Regions from separate parts of the Homo sapiens genome. Here region 2 is linked to region 1. Evidence: promoter capture Hi-C in 16 types of primary human blood cells and fetal thymus (Javierre and others, 2016). All regions are on one chromosome and are shown on one strand. The core of a region is centred on a gene start or on the middle of the fragment in contact, and the rest is flanking DNA. Distances in the headings are between cores, read along the strand shown.

Region 1 (7,865 bases), core at 2,452-4,951:
TCACGCCTGTAATCCCAACACTTTGGGAGGCCGAGGTAGGTGGATCACCTGAGGTCAGGAGTTTGAGACCAGCCTGGCCAACATGGCAAAACCCTGTCTCTACTAAAAAAGCAAAAATTAGCTGGGCATGGTGGTGTACTCCTGCAATCCCAGCTACTTGGGAGGTTGAGGCGTGAGAATCACTTAAACCCAGGAGGCTGAGGTTGCAGTGTGCCGAGACGGCACCACTGCACTCCAGCCTGGATGACAGAGTGAGAGTTTGTCTCAAAACAAACAAACAAACAAACAAACAAAAACCAAACAAAAAAACCCCCAACTCACATCACTACGCTGACATATACAGTAAGCTTGAAAGTTAGGTATTTTATAGCATTATTTCTCCCAACAGAATGTATTGCCAAATTCATAGCTAAAGTGAGACAAGTCAGAATACTAGGATCTTAGATCTATTCAGGAAAAATCTACTTCACAATGACATAACTATAAGCTCTTTTCATTGAAAGTAATGGCAAAACCTGCAATTACTCTTGCACCAACCTAATATAAATACCCCTGTTTTGGCAACCAAATCTAAACTGGCTTTGGATCAAAGGTCACATATTACACAATTTCATGTCATACTTCATCCATTTATTCAACAATTTCATGTCACACTTCATCAATTCACTCAACAACTGTGTATGGTGCACACTCCACACAAGGCATGGTTCATGGTTTTTGGTATTGAGGTTTCAAAGGTTGGATAGGAGAGAGATGATCTCTGCCTTGAACTTCTCCAGTCTGGGACACAGGAACTAGACCAGGTGAAACACCAGCCGGGAAGATGCAGAGGGAGCATCCTGGAAACTGGCAGCCTTGGCTACTTTGAAGGTTCAAATTATTTTTCCTTTTCCTGAATTAGAATAATGTCTATTCTCTCCATATTGCCCTCTGTGCCCACAGGTACTACTCCTTCTTTTGGGGCTTTTCCACATCTAAAACCTGACGTATGCTAAATTCCAAGTTCTTTCCTTTCTCAGCTGCTGTGGTGACACCTGGAATCCTGGCAAGAGGGGGATGTTGTTGCATTGGGAGGAATCACAAAACGCCTGGTCTTGTCCAGCCCTTGGACTCCCCCAGGCAGAGGTGAGAGTTGAGTGGAGAGGTAGGGGACTCCTAATTCAAGGTTGGTTGTGGGTATTCTTAGCAAACAATTACACTTTACTAGAATATGAAGTGGCAAAGTGGGGAAACACACAAGGCTAAGCTTACTAAGCTTACTAATGATTTGCAGGGGAATCTGTGACTCCCCACTAACATGGAAAGTAAAAATGTACATTTTTGTGGAAAGAGTCATTTGACAAATATTTTAGCATTTGCTAGTACGAGGCACCATTCTAGGAACTGGGAATAATACATCAGTAAACCAAACTGTCAAAGTGTCCTGACCTCCTTGAGTTTTTATTTTACACAGAGATGTGGATCACAGGTTTATTTGACAAAAAGGTCTGGGACCCAAACAATGCTTTGGAATCAAGATACTAAACCTATGGTGCTCAGCGTTGTGTACCAACAACACATAAGGGGAACCTTAAAAGTTCAAATGACTTAGCCCTTCCTTGACATTCTGATTGGCTGGATCTGTGCTCGGGTTTGATAATTTATGTTTTGAAGTGCTGTTCATATTGACCTAGATTGCTTCTGAAAAAAAGCTGGAGACAAAGTTCCTCTCACCAAGCAAAGCCATGGAAAATTGGTCACCTCCTTTTTTCAGAAACACAACAATGCAATGGGATTTTCAGTTCTGGATATCCCAAGAGAGAAGCATCAACATCCCTCCTTACTTTTATTAGCTTAGAATAGCACCCTACAATGCTTTAAAAGGATGTTTAAACGTATGCCTAAACCAGGTATGGTGGCTCACATCTATAACCCCAGCACTTTGGGAAGCTGAGTCAGGAGGTTGGCTTGAGCCCAGGAGTTTGAGACCAGCCTGGGCAATCAACATAGGGAGACCCCCCCATGTCTACAAAAAATCAAAAAAATAAAACTAGCTGGGCATGGTGGCATGTGCCTATAATTCCAGATACTCAGGAGGCTGAGGTGGTAGGATTGCTTGAGTCCAGAAGTTCGAGGTTACAATCAGCTAGTCGAGCTACTGCACTCCAGCTTGGGGACAAAGCAAGACCACGTTTCTAAAAACACCACCACCACCATCAAAAAACAAACACACAAAGTATGCCCATATTTTCTAAGTTCTAGAAAGGAGAGGATAAATTATCATACTTACTAACTTGAATCCCCAAATGATTTCCCAATTTTCTTCCCAAATAGTAATACTACTATTAAGAATATAATGAGTTTTTATTATTTGCCACTTTATAAGTGTTTTCCCACGTAATACTTCCAAGAACCCTGTGAGGTCTTGTTCTACTTATTTGATCAGCGAGAAACGGAGGCGCGGAGGTCACCAAGCTTGCTCAAGGTCACACAAGGGTGGACCCCTGAGCCTACCTCTCAACCTCGACTGCTGTGTCCATCCTTTCTTCATCGTTTCAACGTACCCCCCTCATTTCTTGGAATCTCTCCTGTGACCAAAGATGAACAAAATTATACATCACTAAAGAGGAAAACAAACTGCTGGGGAGACTACTCAGCAGCCTGATTTGAGGAGTATTTGGGAAGGGCAGCCTTCCTGTGGTATGGGAGTCTTTCTGTCCGCCACCTCGCCGGGACAGAAGTCACTCCATCCGCACCCCCGGGCGACCTCCGGAGGCCGCAGCTACCCCCGGGCTGCGAATTCCGAGTTCTCTCACGCCCCCGCGGGCGCCAGGACGCAGGGCATGTCCGCGCCCGGCGGGGATCCTTATCTCCTGGCCCCGGAGTAGGTCCGCAGGCTTCTCGGCCCTGCCAGGAACTTGAGGCCGGGGCAGATGATTGACTGGGTCCAGCAGTCTCTGCTGGCAGGGCAGTTGAAAAGCTAGAGGGATCTCTTTTTTGGTTGAATACCTGAACCCACACTAGCACCATGGCTTCTCTCTCTTGCCTGTAGTTTCCCGTGTCCTAAAAAGTTGGTCCCAAAGTTTAAGGATGCGGGTGTGTGTAAGAGCGCGTGTGACCCGCACAGGGATCCCAGTTGGGGAACCGGAGGATCCCACCGTCCCCCTCCCCCGGGTCGCAGAGACCCTGGCAGACCCCGCGCCAGGACCCGAACCCGCAAGCGCAGGGCAGGCAGGGAGGCGGCGAGCGCCCCGGGGCGGGTCTCGGGGGTTTCAGTGGGACCTGCGGCAAGGGGGGCGGCGAACCAGCCGGGCTGGGTGACCGACAGCCTGGCCAGCCACTGGCCGAGGGCGGTTAGGAGGCTTAGGGCCGGCGCGAGTGCGTGCGCGTGTGCGTGAGTGTGAGCGCCAGGGTGAGTGTGGCAGCCTCCCCAACCCCCACCTGTTTGAAATGGTTTTCAAATGCCAAAGCCAGATTGCCCGGGTTTCAAAAGTTGCAAACAGTTGGAGTAAAACACGTGTGCGGCCCTCCAGCCCCAAAGGAATCCGCGGAGTCCAGGGCACTGAAAGAAAAGGAGAGAGGATAGGGGTTCAGGAAGGGTTGGGGGGGAGTTGCCTTCTCCCGGCAGGTCGGTTTTAGGACCCATCGGGAAGCACGTTGGAATCTCTCCCTTCGGGGAGGAGGGGAGGGGTGGGCCGGCCGGCTGGCGGCCGCGGGGCGCATGCGCGCGCGTCTCCTGTCGCCGGCCGCTGCGCTCCGCGGCGCGGAATAGAATGAACTGTAACAAAACAAGCCGAGCCTTTGTATCTGCTTAAAGGGGCCGCGAGCACTTACCTCCCGCCCTGCTCCCCGCCGCCCCGCCACCGCGTCTTCAGGGCTCCCGGCAACTGGCTGGAAGGGCTTCCCTCACCCTCAGTAACAGCCTGCCAGCGAGGAGAGGCGAGCCGGGCGGGAGGCAAAGAGGAGGCACCGCATTTGTAAAAGGCAAGAGAGAAAGGAAGGAAGGAAAAAAAAATAACCCGAGCGGCGCAGAGTGGACTCTGGTCCGGGAGAGCACGGGCGGGCGCCGGAACGTGGACCCAGAGGCACCGGAATGCAAACAAAGCTCGCGGGCGCCTGTGCGGGGCTCGCGGGGAAGCCCAGAAAGTTTGTTTTATGATGGCTTGAGTGCGCGAGCGTGTGCAGGGGAGCGAGGCTGCCAAGTTTCTCTCTCCTGTTTTGTGATTTGGGGAGAGATGTTTCTCCCATGAACAAGCGGAGGCTTGGGGGCTCGTGCTGTGGGGGGCACCTGTCTCTCGTTTTATTTTTTTGGAGGAGGGGTGTAACTCATCATGTCCAAAGTGATCCAGAAGAAGAACCACTGGACTAGCAGGGTTCACGAATGCACCGTGAAGCGGGGACCCCAGGGCGAGCTGGGGGTGACGGTGCTGGGAGGCGCGGAGCACGGGGAGTTTCCGTACGTCGGAGCGGTGGCGGCGGTCGAGGCAGCGGGGCTTCCCGGCGGCGGCGAGGGCCCGAGGCTGGGCGAAGGGGAGCTGCTTCTGGAGGTGCAGGGGGTCCGGGTGTCCGGCTTGCCCCGCTATGACGTGCTGGGGGTCATCGACAGCTGCAAGGAGGCCGTCACCTTCAAGGCCGTCAGACAAGGTAAGGCAGGGCGCGCCTTTGGGGGGCGCCCCGAGAAAAGGAGGGTGGTCTGTGGGCTGCCCCTTATTCTCGATTTCCTGCTTCCCTCCTCGGAGCGCAGTGAAGAGAAGTTGAGGCCGTGCGCCCTGTGGTGGCGGTGAAATACACAAAGTTGTTGCGAGGTTGAGGGTTGTTTGCCCACCTGCGTTTCGAAGAGGGGGCTGGGTTTGCGCAAGGTAGCGGGGGGACGTTTCTCAGGCCTGGCTGGCCAACCTGTTATCTCCGCCACTAAGTGCAGCGCAGTCTCGCCTGCACCCGAGAGAGAGTTGGGGAACTGAGTCAGGGGCATGGTGGACGCTGTCCTGGCTCCTTGGGGGAGGGATGCAGCTGGCGTTCTTTGGCCACGAGTCAGTTTCCATACCTGCTGAGTGGGTATACAGAAAGAGAGGGTCTGTAGTTTATTGGACCTCCCCCATCAGAAAATCTGCTTCACCCCGCGACCCCTCCAGGTGAGCTAGGACACCACTGCCTGGCGGTTCCTGAGCCCGCCGCCAGAAGAGCCTGCATTCACCCCTCAGCCGGATGACGCATGTGTCTCCACCGTGTGGCTCAGCCATACACTTGGGAGGGGGAGAGGGGGAAGGGGTGCTTGCTTTTAGCTCGAATCGGGTCCAAGTTTACCCTCCCACCACCACCATCATCGTCATTATTGATGATGAAAATGAAGCTACTATTCATTGTTGGTTTACTACATGCCCGGCTCTGTGTAAAATACTTTACTTGCACTATCTCACTCCGATTCACAACAGTTCTAAGAACGAGTTGTTCTTATTTATATACCCCAAATTAGAGATAAGGAAACTGGGATTGATACTGGTTAAGTGACTTGCTCAAGGTCACACAGTTGCCAAAAGCGAGGGTTTGAGCCCTTGCTGCAGAGCCTTAAGTATGGAGGAGGAAGGAGTGGGGGGATGACCCTACCGCACTGAAGGGGCTGATTCCTGAGGAGGGAGTGGAAGCAAATTCCTCTCTCAGAAATCTGTAGAGGCCTTTTAAAAGATGCATTTGCTGGCTGCTGGTGATGTAGGTCCCTTACATCTCACTTTGGTACAGACAAGGGGCTGTCCTCATGTCAACCCAATGGAGACCAGCTGAGGCCCTTAAAGGGCTCCCTTGTGCAAGCAAGTGCCATGACGCAGGTTCTCCCCAGTGAAAGCACCGAAGGAAGTCGTGAAGTTGAACATGGTGAAAAGTTCCCATGTGTTTCCATAAGGACAGGCAGCAGCTGGAGGAATGTGTCAAAGGAAGGGCTGGGCCTAGCTGGTCCTCTCTTGGAAACAGGCGTGCTCCAGATGAAATGGAGGAGGGGGCGGCCGACTCGCCTGGCCTTTTAGCAGCTTTGGGAGCTGAGGAGCTGACACTTAGCTATGGAAAGCTCCTTGTATTTATGACTTCATTCTCCACTGGGATACCTCCTCCAAGAAGCCCTCCAGAATCCTGCTAGGATGCACAAATTCTTCCTCCTTTGGGCTCCTTTAATGTCTACTTTGTGGCTTTTTTACTTACTCTGAACTCTGAGTTAGGTCCTCATTTCCATACAAGGTAGTGAGCTCATTAAAGGGAGAGATTGTGCCTCATTCCTGGCATACCTCTCCAGGTTTTGCTTGAGGTTCAAAACCTTTCCTGGCCTGACAATGCGTCTTCCTCACACTGGCTTTCCTGTGGGTATTACATAAGCTAACACGTGGAAAGTGCACCCAACAGTGCCTGTACATAGTAAGTGCTCCATAAAGATTAGCTATTTATGTTTGAATTGATTTTAGCAGCTATTTATTTCTGAAACTAGTTTTTAGTGTCAGGAACCTGGATAATTATGACTTGATAGGGCTGTAGAGAAAATACTGTGTGAAGGCATAGGATGGGAGCAGCTGCAGGTCTCAGTTCAGGACCATTTTGGAGAAAGGGTGGAGGAAGGACAGGCAAGGGTACCTGCCCAACTAGGGGGATGCCTCGCAGTGTCTAACGGGTCCTGAATAGGGGCTGGCTTGCAGTGTTTGCAGTGTGCAAGATGCTGCATGGGCTTGTGTCTCTTCCTTCCACTAGTTGCCAAATTTCTGGGAGGCGATGTCCCAGGGCTCTCTCATCATGGAGTTTAGGAAGGCTTGGTGAGATAATCAAGTGGGTTTGGAAACAGACACCTCTGAGTTGAAAGGAAACTGTAGTGTCTCCAGGTGTTAGCTCTCTTCACCCCTTGTGCACAGATTGTTCACAGCAGGGGCGAGTGTGTGGGTATGTTTCTGTGTGTGTGTGTATATGTATGTATGGATGGATGTACGTGAATCTACTTGTAATGGGATAGAAATATGATACTGATTGGGAAACCTGAATGGCCTGGAATTCATTGCAGTCTGAAAGTGACTATTTCATGTAATAATTACACAGGCACAGTTGGATCTTCTGACGTCTTCATTACCAGTAATGATGGCCCTAGAAACCATTTCACCAGTTTTCTGCTCCCTCTTCCATGTTGAGAATATGATTTAGATTGTATGACAGAATTGCTCTTAATGTGTCTTCATTACTGTGCCTTTTAAAGTCATATCAAGCAGGCTCATACTTGGTATATGGTAAAGAAAAATACTACTTTTGTGTTGTTTGCATCCCAAGTTAGCCACTTCCAGGGACACAGATCACTCTGGATACTGTCTACATGGTGGGAGAAAATTCTGTTTTTCTACTTCATGGCAGTTCTCTGGAAAGATACATGGACCAAAACTGTCTGTGACAGGACTGGATTGTGCAGGAATCAAACTCAATGGATCTGCCAGGTTGGACTTGGTTCATTTTAAATGGAGAAGACAGTCCTTTGTCAGGTTGGAGTTGGTTCATTTTAAGTGGGGAAGACAGTACTTTGTCATAAAATGCCTTTACAAAGTTATATATAATTATGTGTATTCAGGTATCATTTACCTATAGTAAAATGCATATCTTAGATATATAATTTGATGAGTTTTAAGCGATGTATGCACTCATGTTAATCACTCAAATGAAGATAGAGAACATTTTCATCACCCCAGAAATTTTTCTCATGTTCCTGTCCAGTTAATTCCCCCCTCCCCCTGCACCATAGATCTACCATAGAATAATTTTGTCTTCAACTTCATAAAAATGAACTAATGCAGTATGTACTCTTTTGTGTTTGGCTTTTGTTACTCAACAAAATATTTTGGAGATTTCGTTTTGTTGCATGTGTACTTCATTTG
Region 2 (7,865 bases), core at 3,714-6,213, 240 kb after region 1:
CCTTTGATATTTTTTCATATGTACAATCTCTATTACAGTAAATTTCACCTACAATATTTTAGTCCAAACAGTGTTAAATTGTCACCTGCTGTTATAATATCGCAGGATTCCTAATACTATTTTTAATTGACATCACTTTACTGGATTAGAGATGTTTGCTAACTCTAGTTAAAAAAAATCAGCTCATTTAGCTGTTATCTTATTCAAAGTGAAATACTTTGATTTTGCAAGTAGCAGAAAACAAAGAAACAAAAAAATGGGCAAGGATGTTATTAAAATAAGGCCATATTGAAGCAGTGTGGTGGGAGTACTGGTAATGTCCTCTCTCTCTCTTCATCTGCATGTTGGTTACATGGATGTCTTTATCAGTAGAAAATGTTGAGGTTATAGAGATGAAATTTGTGTTTTTCACCATAGATGAGTTAGATGCCAACAAAAGACACACACACACACACACACACACACACACACACACACACACAGATGAGATGATCTTTTGAGTGGAGTTTTGGAGAGTGTGTTGAAGTCACCATGGAAGGAAAATGGTTAGGCATTCGGTACTTGAGGCAGGAAACTAGGCATTCTTCAGTCATCCATTCAGTCAGCCATTTAATATTTACCTAATTCAGTGTTTGTTTTATGCCAGGTATTGTGTACTTGATAGATGTTACAGGAATGAACAAAAGAAAGATGGTACTTGCCTGAGTGTTGCTACCAGATAATTGAACTGAATTGATATGAACAATTTGCAAGAGCCACTGCTTTCTGAACCCCAGGGTGCAATGTGGATTTGGGCACATTTTTAGAGGGCCTTGAAGTAATTCTAAAGGACTTTTTATTTTTCTAGACATTTCTTACACAGATGCTCTGTTTACCATCTTTTATTTTTAATTACACGAGTAACTCATGAATGCGTTCACATGGTGAAAAATTACAACCCCAAGGAGGAATGGAGAGTTGCCTCCATCTTCCTTGTCTCCCCCATCCCTCCCATCAAATAGAATTTAGAATTCTCCTATCAGAATAACCATTTTGTTCAGACCTTTTCTGATAGGATATGGAAAGGAGGGAGGGAAGGAGGAGAATTTTAAGGGCAGAATTGTACCTCAAATGCTAAGAATAATGCGTTGCACATAGTAGGCTCTCAGAAAAATTTTAACTGAATGAAGATGTTTTAGGGCAGTGGTCCCCAACCTTTTTGGCACCAGGGACCGGTTTCATGGAAGTCAAATTTTCCAGGAGGTTGAGTGGGGCAGGGAGCATGGTTTCAGGATGAAACTGTTCCACCTCAGACCATCAAGCATTAGTTAGATTCTAATAAGGAGTGTCCAACCTAGATCCCCAACATGTGCAGTTCAAAATAGGTTTCATGGTCCTCTGGGAATTGAATGCCTCTGCTGATATCACAGGAGGCCCAGCTCAGGAGGTAATGCTAGTTTACTGCCCCCATCCTGCTGTGTGGCTGGGTTCCTAGCAGGCCATGGACTGGTAGCAGTCTGTGGCCCGGGGTTTGGGGACCCCTGCTTTAGGGGTTAATAAAGTAGAAAATCTTATAGTGAATTGAAAAGTTTTTGTTTCTATGCATTTTCTTACCCAACAGATATTTAAAATATAATTACTGTCATGTTAGGTTCCACTAAACTTTAAAACCTATCTGCATTTTTTAAAGAGTTGAGAGCCATTGGGTTAGAATGTAGGAGAAGTGATTGGTCGAGGAGCTGTTAGAAAGTGAAGGAGGCTGTCAGGGAGATGGAGACCTGGATTTGCAGAGGTCTTCCTCAGATCTTGATAATGGAGAGCTTTTTTCCAGCCAAGTTGGCCTATAATGCTGTTTCTGCTAAGTGATCCAAGTACGGTTATTCATCTCTAAATTTGGTCATCACTTTGATGGAATCTAAGACTTAAGCGACCGGACATTTTTCTAGAATGTTATAACTTTGCATCTGACTTCAAGACCTAGCTACTTTGACCATTTCAAAGCTTTGGATTTTCTTTCCCTCATCAGACCTTTCCTTTGGATGCTCTGTATTAGATCTCAAAAGACTCAAATGATTGGTATTGTCTGCATCAGTGTTTCTGTTTAACTTGAAGCTAAACCCATGCTGTTCTTGAAATCTGTATTTTTTCTTGACTTCCTATTTTATTTTTCCATTTCAGGAAGTGATTATTTCATTGGAAACATTAGATCTGTGTTGCCCAAGAAGAGTTTTACCTGAAATTATTCTTTATCTCTCATTTTCATAAGTGTCTCAAATATAAACCAATGGTGCTTGACAATTTGCAAATAAATATAAAGTGACAGAGGAGAAGAACTAAGTAGGAACTTCCAGGGAGATTTGCCTGTGAGCACCTGATTCATCCAACTCTGTTTTATCCCAGGGGAAATATTACATTGGTGCAGAAGTGACTGCGGTTTTTACTATTACTTTTAATGGCGAAAACCACAATTAATTTTGCACCAACCTAACAGGAACAATAAACTGTGTGACAAATAGATTCACTCTAAGATAAAGGAAGAAAATATATGAGAAAAATATCAGGCAGTCCTGGTAGAAGCTAACATCAAAATACTTGGAAACCATAGGAATGGATACATATTTAAAAATTTTATTTTATTTTTAGTTTTAGTTTTTGCTATCACTCCTTTTCAGAAGCAACAATTTTGCCAATTTCTTACATCAGTTTTTTTTTTAATCTAATTAAAAAACGTATTTCCCATGGTGGGAGTTCATATCTTATTGGATGCATTTCTGATTGTTTGAAGCAGTCCATGTTCTGCCCTTCCAAGCACCTGTTCACTGGGCCTGTTTGCTGGGTTATAAAGACTATGAGACTGGACAATTGGACTCACTGATACACAATGTCTGGTTTTGCTAAGGTTTCCCTCTAACTCTTTGTGGGGATAAAAAAGAAATTCACAATTACTAAAAGATACTCTTCAGTGTATAGAAAATACTCCAAGGGGAGGGAAGGATTGATTATATTTAATATTTAACATGCCACCCCTAAAACTTTGCTTGCTCCTACATTGAACTACCCTGACACCTTTAAATGTAAGAACCACAAATTAATGATGAAGAAGAAAAAGAAGCTGATGATCAGGATTAGCACTTACTAAAGGCTTGCCACGTGCCAGGCATTATTCTGAATGCTTTACATGTGTTAAGTCACCTGTTCGCCACTAGAACCCCATATGGAGCAGGTATTATTAGGCTCTCCATTTATGGATGAGGAAACTGAAACTTGGGAGGAAAGTAACATGCCCAACGCCATTCAGCAAAGTAAGTGGTAGACTTGGAATTAGGCAGTCGGAACCTTCAGGAAGTCTGAATAATTGGGAAACGTAGTATTAACTTATTTTAAAATGGTACATTATTTGTGTTTAAATAATATGCTTGCTTGTTTTATCTATTTTTTTCAACTTCCAGACATCTTCTCAGCTGAAGAATATTTAAATGTAAAGCGTTGGGTACAATTATTAATGTGAGGGGAAAATGTGCAATACACTACAGAGTTTTCAAAAGTTGTGGAAACATCAGCCCAAATAAATATTTTTTAAAAAACACATAAATATGAGTTTTGTTTGCATATTCATTTAAAACTACAATTAACTGACATGTCAGCTGCTCTTTTATTATGTGTAGTCCTCCTTTATCTGCAGGAGATATCTTCCAAGACCCCCAGTGGATGCCTCAAACCATGGAATAGTACCAAATTCTATAGTATACTTTGCTCTTCCCCATACATACATATGTATGATAAAATTTAATTTATAAACTAGGCACAGTAATGAGATCAACAGCTTCTTCAACTCTGCTGGAAATGTGACAGCTGCTTCTTCATCAGCAGATAGAGACTCTCCAGTAATTTTTGTATTTTTCGGTACAAGCTTATCTTGAATCTGCACAACCATTCGCTACTTGCAACAAATAACTTAGTGTCACTCATTTTAGGGGATCCCTTGCTGAAGTCTTTGTATAGGCTCGGTGCTTCCTGGTGCCACATGTTTCAGTCAGTTGGAACCCATTTCTGTTGATGTCTTCCACCCAAACATTTTTCTTTCCTTTTGAACTAAGTACTTGTAATGCACTGTGGCCATAACTTTTGTAGTTTGAAGTGCAACAGAAAAGTAGCACGAATTTCTTTTTCCTTCATTACAGTTTCACAGATAGAATACTATAGAGCTCAGCAACCTCAGCATATGATTTTTTTCTTTGCTTATTAAATCGAGAATTTTCACCTTTTTCACTAACAGAAGCACATTACAGCTTCCCTTTTGGCTGTTTGACTTGCTAGCCTCACTAGTCTTGCACTCTCGGGTCATCATTAGGTAAAATAAAGGTTTCTTGAACACAAGCACTGTGATACTTTGACAGTCGACCTGCTCACTGAGGTGGCCGATATGTGATTAATGGGTGGTGAGGGTATACGGGGTAGAAATGCTGTCCTAAAGGCCGGTTCCCCTTTGAGCTGGACACAGTGGAATGGTGAGAGATTTCATCACATCACTCAGGACGGTGCATGATTTAAAACTTATGAATTGTTTATTTCTGAAATTTTTCATTTAATATTTTTGGACTGTGGTTGACCGTAGGTAACTGAAACTGCAGAAAGCGAAGCCGTGGATAATGGGGGGACTACTGTAGCTGTAGTATTTCTAGAAATTCTTTTCATGAAAGGAAATTTCAGTTCACAAAGCTCCTGGGAATATTTATTTTGACTGCAATCAGCATGAATCTGCGAAGTTTAAGGAAACCCAGAGCATCCTTCCTAAGCCATGGTAAAGAGGCAAGAGCCATGGTAAAGGGCAGCACCCCTACACCTATCTTGGCCCGAGGCCTACAGTTGGCGGCTTCCTTTGGAACTTCAGAGTGTCTTTGATGTGCCTTTCAGAATGATGTCTGCTCCATGGGTCCTGATGACTTATGTTTCCCGGGAGGAAGAAAGGCATGGAATGGGCGAGGGGTTGTCATTTTCAGTGCTTCTGAGGCTGTGTTTGTTTGTTTGTTTGTTTGTTTGTTTGTTTTGAGATGGAGTCTCGCTTTGTTGCCCAGGCTGGAGTGCAGTGGTGTGATCTCGGCTCACGGCAAGCTCCGTCTCCCGGGTTCAAGTGATTCTCTTTTCTAAGCCTCCCAAGTAGCTGGGATTACAGGCACACCCCACCATGCCCAGCTAATTTTTGTATTTTTAGTAGAGACAGGGTTTCACCATGTTGGCCAGGATGGTCTCCATCTCTTGACCTCGTGATCTGCCTGCCTTGGCCTCCCAAAGTGCTGGGATGACAGGTGTGAGCCACTGCACCAGGCCAAGGCTATGTTTTTAAGGTGAAGAATTGAAGATGCATTTTAGAAATGAGACAAACTATATTCCTTTCAAGGGCTGTTGCTCCATAGCTGTAATGCCCATAAACAGTACAGCACAGTCCAATCCAAGGTTACGCTTAGATTTGAGTGTATCCTTAGATGACAAAACTTCCCAACATACATTGAATAATCTCCACTAGAAATCTGTGTTATTTTTCCTGTCCGTGCTCTGGATTCTTCAAAGTTCTTAAATATTAATATTGGTTAAAATATTAGTATTTATAGAAACTAGATTTCTGTTTTCTTTTTTTTGAGACTGGGTCTCACTGTGTTGCTCAAGCTGGAGTGCAGTGGTGTGATCATGGCCTACTGCAGCTTCGAACTCCAAGGCTCAGGTGATCACCTGACCTCAGTCTCCCAGGTAGCTGGGATTACAGGCCTTTGCCACCACACCAGGCTAATTTTCTTGTAGAGATGGGGTTTTGCCATGTTGCCCAGGCTGGTCTCGAACTCTGGGGCTCAAGCCGTCTGCATGGCTCGACTGCTCAAAGTACTGGGATTACAAGTATGAGCCAGTGTGCCTGGCCGGTTTCTGTTTTCTTTCTTCTCATTTTAAATCTATTTAATCAGAAGCAGCAGTTGCCATACATAGATCAGAGTAATTAAAAATCTATTCTAGAATAATGTAGTGAGTCATAGACTCTTTACAGGTATCCTGCCCCTATTAAAGCTTCCTTAGATGCATCCTTAATGTTTACTGGGCTAGTGTTTACCTGCCTCCACTCTTTCTTTTGAAAATGTAAGAGACCATTGCAGCTGGATAATGGCTTACATTGTCTGCACTAATTGGACTTGCCTTGTATCTCAGAGACTGAGGACTTTAATATTTTTTTCCAAACACTTAAAAGTGACTAGCAAATAACCACTTGAGCTTCATGTTTAATAGATAATCAGAACTCATGCGGCATAGCTAAGGTTTTCTGGATGAAAAGTAAATGCTGTTGGAAAAAAAAAATACAGATGATTAGTTTCAATCCAAGATCACACCCTTGGAAGATGAGAGAAAGAATGAAAAGTACCTGAAATTTTGTTGGTAACAGAGGAGGCATCCTCAAACTATGGCCCTGAGGCCAAATCTGACCCACAGCCTGTTTCTGTAAATAAAGTTTAGTGGTCACAGCCATTCCCATTTGTCATGTATAGTACAAGGCCGCTTTCCCATGACAGCAACAGAATTGAGAGGTTAGGGTAGAGAGCATATGGTCTGCAATGCCAACAGTATTTACTATCGGCACCTTATTATAGTTGAAATATGCCGACCCCTTGGTTAGAGCATTAGGAATAGCATATTATTATTCAGAAGGTTTAGGCATTTAAAAAGATTTAAAGTAAATGAATATAAATACTTTTAATTTTATTTCATGGCAAAACTTATTAATAGCTAACTTGCCCCACATAGATATAGCTGATGTCAGAGACCAACCGCTGTGGGAGCCAGTGTGTCCGTTTCCCCTCATATTTTCTGCTTAGTGACCAAAAGCCCAGCAGAAAAGAGATGAAACAGCAGCTGTAATGGTTAATTTTGTTTGTACTTGGCTAGGCCACGGTACCCAGGTATTTGGTGAAACACCAGTCTGGATGTCGCTGGGAAGGTATTCTTTAGATAAGAATAACGTTTACATTGGTATTAATAGATTCAGAGCAAAGCAGATTACCCTTTCCAATGGGGATTGGCCTCATCAATCAAATCAGTTGAAAGCCTTAAAAGAAAATAGACTTAAAAGAAAATAGCCTTAAAAGACAAAGAAAATAGAGCTCCTGGGAGGAAGAAGGAATTCTGCCTGGAGAGTGTCTTTGCATCAGTTCTTCCCTGGGACCCCGGCCTGTGCCAGCTCTGCAATTTTGGACTCGCCATCCTCCGCAGTCCTGTGAAGCCAATTTCTTTTCTTTTCTTTTCTTTTTTTTTTTTTTTTTTTTGAGACAGAGTCTCAGTCTGTCACCCAGGCTGGAGTGCAGTGGCACGATCTCTGCTCACTGCACCTTCCGCCTCCTGTGGTCAAGCAATTCTTGCGCCTCAGCCTCCTAAGTAGCTGGGATTACAGGTGTGCACTACCACACCTGACTAATTTTTGTGTTTTTAGTAGAGACGGGGTTTCACCATTTTGGCCAGCCTGGTCTTGAACTCCTGACCTCAGGTGATCCACCTGCCTAGGCTTCCCAAAGTGCTGGGATTACAGACATGAGCCATCACACCCCTCGGCCTGACCAATTTCTTAAATCTCTATCTCTCTCTCTCTCTCCGTGTGTGTGTGTGTGTGTGTGTGTGTGTGTATCTTATCATCTTATGGTTCTGTTTCTTTGGAGACCGAAATAGAGCAGGCTTCATTTTAAGTTAAACTTCTTATTCTGAGATAATTGGAGATTTACAAGTAGTTGTAAGAAATACTACAGGGCCATCCAGTGTATCCTTTGCATAATTTCTTCCAATGGTAATATTTTACAAAACCCCTCTCAGTCACTAATATGTTCCCCATCTCTACAATTTTATCATTTCAAGAATGT

Evidence for each region. The method cuts DNA at HindIII sites, captures the fragments that hold promoters and counts their contacts. A CHiCAGO score of 5 or more calls a contact.
Region 2: a fragment that was not itself captured here is called in contact with the fragment with the promoter of MAGI1 in region 1 in 1 of 17 cell types (endothelial precursors); the score reaches 8.4 in endothelial precursors.

What each region holds. Positions count from the first base shown.
Region 1 is chr3:66,034,754-66,042,618 of GRCh38, reverse strand. MAGI1 (membrane associated guanylate kinase, WW and PDZ domain containing 1) reads left to right here and starts at 3,701. Exons shown (of 23, transcript NM_001033057.2): 1 at 3,701-4,623. The coding sequence starts at 4,311. LOC105377128 (a long non-coding RNA gene) reads right to left here and starts at 3,666. Exons shown (of 2, transcript XR_001740440.2): 1 at 3,421-3,666; 2 at 2,325-2,567. RefSeq lists a silencer at 3,614-3,733 and enhancers at 4,686-5,513, 5,514-6,341, 6,342-7,171. The HindIII fragment of the contact is 5,984 bases long and covers 2,457-7,865 here.
Region 2 is chr3:65,795,466-65,803,330 of GRCh38, reverse strand. All of the region lies in intron 1 of MAGI1 (membrane associated guanylate kinase, WW and PDZ domain containing 1), which reads left to right. Among named protein-coding and RNA genes, the nearest start is that of MAGI1-AS1, 94 kb to the left of the region's middle. The HindIII fragment of the contact is 2,144 bases long and covers 3,892-6,035 here.